Regions from separate parts of the Homo sapiens genome. Here region 2 is linked to region 1. Evidence: promoter capture Hi-C in 16 types of primary human blood cells and fetal thymus (Javierre and others, 2016). All regions are on one chromosome and are shown on one strand. Each heading gives the region's core, a stretch centred on a gene start or on the middle of the fragment in contact. The rest is flanking DNA. Distances are from core to core; before and after follow the strand shown. Region 1 holds the start of OTUD4 (OTU deubiquitinase 4). Region 2 overlaps LSM6 (LSM6 homolog, U6 small nuclear RNA and mRNA degradation associated).

Region 1 (2,773 bases), core at 71-2,570:
GACCGGGCTGCCTCGGCCTCCCAAAGTGCTGGGATTACAGGCGTGAGCCACCACGCCCAGCTGAAACTATACTTTTCTAAACCTGATTTCAAAGTGTTTCTTCGCTACAACAAGTAAATTTGAGGCAGGGACATTTTTTCATTTAGGTAACGATAACGTTTGTATTCTCTAAAAGCAGCATAATTTGAGATACAATATTTAAACATTAAGAAATCAAAGACGCTCCAAGGAAAGTGAATACATGACTGATTGCTTGCACTGAAAATACTGAAAAGTGTCTAACGTAGTTTTTAAAAAATTTTTGTCGTTGGACTCTCACCACCTGGCCTGCCTTGCCCCCCATTCCAAGGTATTTGACTACATGTCTAAACCTATAGTAATGCTCCCTTTTCTTCTCCCTCTCCTCCACCATAGCCTAAAAGACTGAATTAGTTCCTATGATTAACCATGTATTTAAATAAGGACACCAGATGTTGTATCTTAGCAAAATAAAATTTTGGTGCAACAGAAGCATGCTGGATAAATTCTGGGTTCTAAAGCATAATTTAACTTTGTCAATTCCCTGCCATTCAACGTCGGAGGGTGGGAAGTTGAGCTGAAGCCTCGAGCACTGGTGGAAGCCATGGCCAGTCCAGTCAGCATGTTATCAAGCAATTTACAAGATGAATTTTTTAAGGGGGAAAAAAAAACCCTAACGTCTTCCGACAGTGACATGTCTCTGTGATGGGGTGCTCAGCTACAGTGACAGGGTGAACAAAAATGTCTTTGGCAAAGCCTTCATCTTGCCGTAGTACGTGAGCTGTACTACTAATAGCAATCAGCAGTCCACGGTTGATTTATGGACAGAGTGTGTCGTCCCGCACCGTGCCAGTTCCCGGAGCCTCAGCCAATTAGCTCTATTTTCTGCTTAAGCCGTTAAAGCCACCTCCATGGAAACACCAGGAGAGCAGGCCGGGGGGAAGGGAGCAGACAGGTGCGCCCTCTGGAAAGAAATACACAAAGGGCCGACACTGCGCCGCCGTGTCCCTGGCAACTCCACGCCAGCCCGGCGCGCGCGATTCCCGCGGCGCAGCGGCAGGGTTGGCGGGTGGCGCGCGCAGGTCGCCCCACATCGGCCGGCGGAGCCCCTCGGCCTGCTCGCGGACGCGGCGCCAGTGCAGCGCGAAGCCGGCTTGGGGCGGTGGCGGTGGCGGCGGCGCGCCCGCGCTGTAGGGACTTGTAGTCCGCGCGCCTCCCGGGCACCTCCCCCGGGTAGGCCGGCCAGCGCGTCCCCGCCCGCCGCAAGCCGACTTCCTGCGGCTGCCAAGACTACATCTCCCGCCGTCCTCTCCGCTGTCGGGCCGAAAGCGAAAACAAATTCTGGGCTGCGAGGTGCTGTTCTCTCCCGGGCGCCCCCACCCGCTCCCTGCCCCTCCGGCGCCCTCCAGCGAGGTGGGGAAACGAAAGGCCGCGTCTTTCTTTTTGGTTTCCTCGGCTCCCGGCGTGGGGAGTGCGCGGGGGCGCAGGCCCCGCTTCACCTGAGCCGGCCCAGCGTGCGCGCCAGGGGCGGGGGTTTTCTCGCTTCACACCGGTACGGAGGAGGAAACTTGTGGGGGCGGCGACCCCCGGCCTGGGTCCTGAGTCAGGCAGCGAGGCCGTCGGGAAGTGACTACTCACTCTCGGGGTTTTCCTTAATCCCGCTCCCCCCGTTTGTCGTGGGCGCGTGTTCGCTCCGAGGAGGCGGCCGCGTGCGGACAGCCATGCATTAGGCAGGGCTTCCCTATGCGCCCGGAGAGCGCGGACCGCTGCCTCGGGCCGCCGCCGCCTGCCGCCGCTCGCGGAGCCCGAGCCCCAGCCCGAGCCGCCGCCTGCCCCAGGCCGGGGCGTCGAGCAGCCGGCGGCCTGGCCATGTGGGGCTAGCCCTCGCCGCGCCTGGCCTGCAGCAGGACCAGCAACATGGAGGCTGCCGTCGGCGTCCCCGACGGCGGGGACCAGGGCGGCGCGGGGCCCCGCGAGGACGCGACGCCCATGGACGCCTATCTGCGGAAACTGGGCTTGTATCGGAAACTGGTCGCCAAGGACGGGTCGTGCCTGTTCCGGGCCGTGGCGGAGCAGGTAATTGCGGGGGGGCGGGGAGGGCTTCGAGGGGAGGCGGGGACGGCCCGGCGGGTCTGGGTGGGGAGGCAGCTGCGGGCTGTCCGGGCCGCCCACGGCCGGGGCTGCGCGTGCCCTGGCTGTCGTCACAGCGCCCCATTGTAACGCCGGAGTGGGACGCTGCTTTGCGTCTGAAAGGTGCAAATTGAAACTCGAAAGCCCGCAAATTAACGGGGTGTCTCTCTCCTGATGAAGAGGTAATGAGTTGAGGACAACTTGTGAGGCCTGCTCGGAGCTTGTACAGTTGATTTATTGCTGGGGACCTGGCGACATGATATTTTTTACTTTTGTTCCGCATTCACCTTCCTTCCCTTCGTTTGAGAAGCACCACGCTCACCCCACTCCAGTAAACCAAGTGTTTACTAGAAGTGGTGGATCAAACTTTACTTGTGGAACATATTTTGGTTTGCTGCTGGACTTTGGAATGTAGGGTAGGCAAGCTCGCCCATGTCACTTGAATCAAATGGGCAAACTGCCGTTTGAGAAAACCAGCCTTTTACAAATATAGAATATTTTGAAGGATTTGTCTTGAGTAGGTTCCACCCTTTATTATGCTCTGCTGGGCTGTGTAGGTATACTAAACAGAACTGACTTTTTTAAAAAAGCCTGTTTTGATGTTGGTAGTAGAAAGGGTACGTGT
Region 2 (2,773 bases), core at 136-2,635, 1.0 Mb before region 1:
AACCTGAATTATGTTTACAAACTCTAGGCTTTGCTTTAATCTGACTGTGAGAGATGTACAGGAATGGCCCCTCCCCTACTGTGTTCATAAACTGAGAGAATAACGTTGATGCCAATGCTCCTGAAAGGGAGCAGGGAAACCTAAAAAGTCTAATTGCATAAGGAGATGCAGGGGGACCACTGACAGGAGGGCTTTCTCCTCACTGAAATCTTGTTCATCTTTAGGATTTCTCCAGCACCTCAGTTCGAATTCCCACTCCTTATGTGCAAGTGGCACTCTTGGCTTTCCAATTCTGTTTTTTATTTAGGTGACTCAATCAGTGGCTGAACTTCTGATCCTGTGGCCCCTTTTTGTAGCTTCAGACTGAAACTGGATGCCTTTGTAGAACATATTCACGCAAGGATTCTGTATGAACAGAAAAGGATGCAATAAAGGAGGATTCCTCCAAAATGTTTTAATTATATGTCCATACAATATATAAAATATATGCATCATTTTAGCTGGATAAGAAAAGCAAGTCAAATGAAATGACACTTCTCGAAACTTAAGTTAAATAATCTTGTAGGAAGAGGTATATTTTGTCTTTTTTTAATTATTTTAGCATTCTGTACACTGACAACGAGGTAAAAGAAAATGACTGAAACTTACAAGTGAAAGAACATTTCACAATTAAATCCACAATTGTATACATTTATCTTACTCACATGTCAGTGAAAAATCACCAACTATTATAAAAAGAGGACAAATTGTATCACAAAAGAAGCAAAAATTAGAAAAAATTCATAAAAAAATATATCCAACTATGAAAAGCGTTGCTCTCTTGGTGTCTTCACATCCGTCTCTTCTGTGTACTGATGTACAACACTGAAAAGAAAAAAATACATAAATTGAAATTTAAAAAACCCTGCTTGTAAGTATACATAGTAGCAAGTTTAAAAGCCAACAGATTTTGGTCTGATACATCTGACATTTAAAAGGAATTCTCGTATCATTCAATTAACTCTAGAAGTACTGTAAGACTAGTTTTATGAATCTACACCCAGGTTTGATGTCTTACAAAACTGTCCTAATTTCATCCATGTGTCTCACTGACTCTTTAAAGTGTGACCAGGAAGATAAAATAAAATATATGTGAAAGTCCCTGGTATCTAAGAATGCTTTATAGTTAGAAGTATAAGAATTATGCTTTTCAGGGCTGAACACGGTGGCTCACGCCTGCAATCTTAGCACTTTGGGAGGCTGAAGCGGGTGGATCACTTGAGCTCAGAAGTTTGAGACCAGCCTGGGCAACATGGTGAAACCCCGTTTCTACCAAAAATACAAAAAATTAACCAGGCATGGTGGTATATGCACTTGTAGTCCCAGCGACTTAGAACGCTGAGGTGGGAGGACTGCTTGAGCTTGGGAGGCAGAGGCTGCAGTGAGCTGAGATTGCACAACTACACTCCAGCCTGGGCCACAGAGCGAGACTTCATCTCAGGAAAAAAAAAAAAAAAAAAAGATGCTTTTCAGAAAGTAAATCAGTAAATCTAACCAGGCTAGATCTCAAATTAAGAATAAACAACATATTTTCATCTGTCTCCCCAATACAAACTCTAAACTTGCTGTTTACCTTCTTAAATGCAACAGGATAAACAAGAGCTAAGGAGTTTATTTTTTATTTTTATTTTTTAATGATACCAAAGTCCTTATTCTGAGTTCCCGTTAAAAGTCTCATACTTTGGTGTTACCTAATGTTCTGCTTAGTGGTCTTCTCATGACTACCAACATGAACTCGTAGGATGTGTGGTCCGTAGGAATGAAACAAAATGAAATGCTTGGGTCACTTTGGCCAAACTAGAGGTGGTTCTCCCTTCCACCTTCCATGCCTACTCGGCTTCTGAGAGGTCTGCTCAAAGCGAACAGTAAGGTGTCTTCATCAAAGAACATAGCACAGATGAATCAAATAAGTCAAGATCCTCTTTAAGAGCCAATGATGTGAACTTGGGAGTCTAAAGATGAGTGTCACTGATTACATCATGGGAAATGTGACATGAAGGGAAGCATCAGAATGCCAGTACAGCCGCCCCCCAACCCTGCCCCCCAAGTCCTAGGGGTAGTGTGCACGTTAAAGGATCTACCCTATCAACACGCACAGAACCCAACCTGCCAGTGACTGCTGCCATTAGCTGTCTTGAGGTGAGACAAGATCATAACATTTCTTAGGAAAAAGAGGAGGTCAAATAAGGATATGAAAAATAGGATAAATAATTCTATAAATAGAAAGGACTAGAAAGCCAGGAAATAATGTATGTAAAAATATGATATGAAGAAATAAGGTCCTGTAAGCATAGGGGACAGACTCTTATTATAAAAGTCAGGAAGTTTAGTTTATAGCAAAGAGATCCAACTATTTAGGGGGTTGAAGACATCCAGAATTAAAGAAATCAACAAAAAATCTGAACTCAAGAATCCCAGAGTTTCTGGGAGATGGAACCAAAAAGTGGGGTAATTCTCATAATTCTGATATCTTTCCCTCCCCACCAAAAATACAAATATGACTTTATTATAATTTTCATTTTTAAACTAGGTACTTAAAAATAACTATAAAAATCATAGCAATTTATTAGTTGTTAAAAACTGAGTAACTTTTTCTATTTTGCCATTTTTGCCAAACTGAAGGATGCAAATCTGCATAGAAAGCATCTGAATGTTTAATAGAGAAGGGACAAATAGGACGAACTGCCAAATTATGCAAATCAAAGACAGCAGGGAAACGGTGCCCATTCTTACA

The links. Contacts are between HindIII fragments. The CHiCAGO score rates a contact against its expected background, and 5 or more counts as called.
Region 2: a fragment that was not itself captured here is called in contact with the fragment with the promoter of OTUD4 in region 1 in 2 of 17 cell types (total CD8 T cells and naive CD8 T cells); the score reaches 6.6 in total CD8 T cells.

What each region holds. Positions count from the first base shown.
Region 1 is chr4:145,179,136-145,181,908 of GRCh38, reverse strand. It overlaps OTUD4 (OTU deubiquitinase 4), which reads left to right and starts at 1,320. Exons shown (of 21, transcript NM_001366057.1): 1 at 1,320-2,094. The coding sequence starts at 1,936. RefSeq lists silencers at 914-1,313, 1,404-1,633, 1,754-2,213 and enhancers at 559-1,388, 1,389-2,218. The HindIII fragment of the contact is 3,984 bases long and covers 1-2,773 here.
Region 2 is chr4:146,187,713-146,190,485 of GRCh38, reverse strand. It overlaps LSM6 (LSM6 homolog, U6 small nuclear RNA and mRNA degradation associated), which reads right to left. Exons shown (of 4, transcript NM_007080.3): 4 at 1-864. The coding sequence ends at 830. Among named protein-coding and RNA genes, the nearest start is that of LSM6, 13 kb to the right of the region's middle. The HindIII fragment of the contact is 5,853 bases long and covers 1-2,773 here.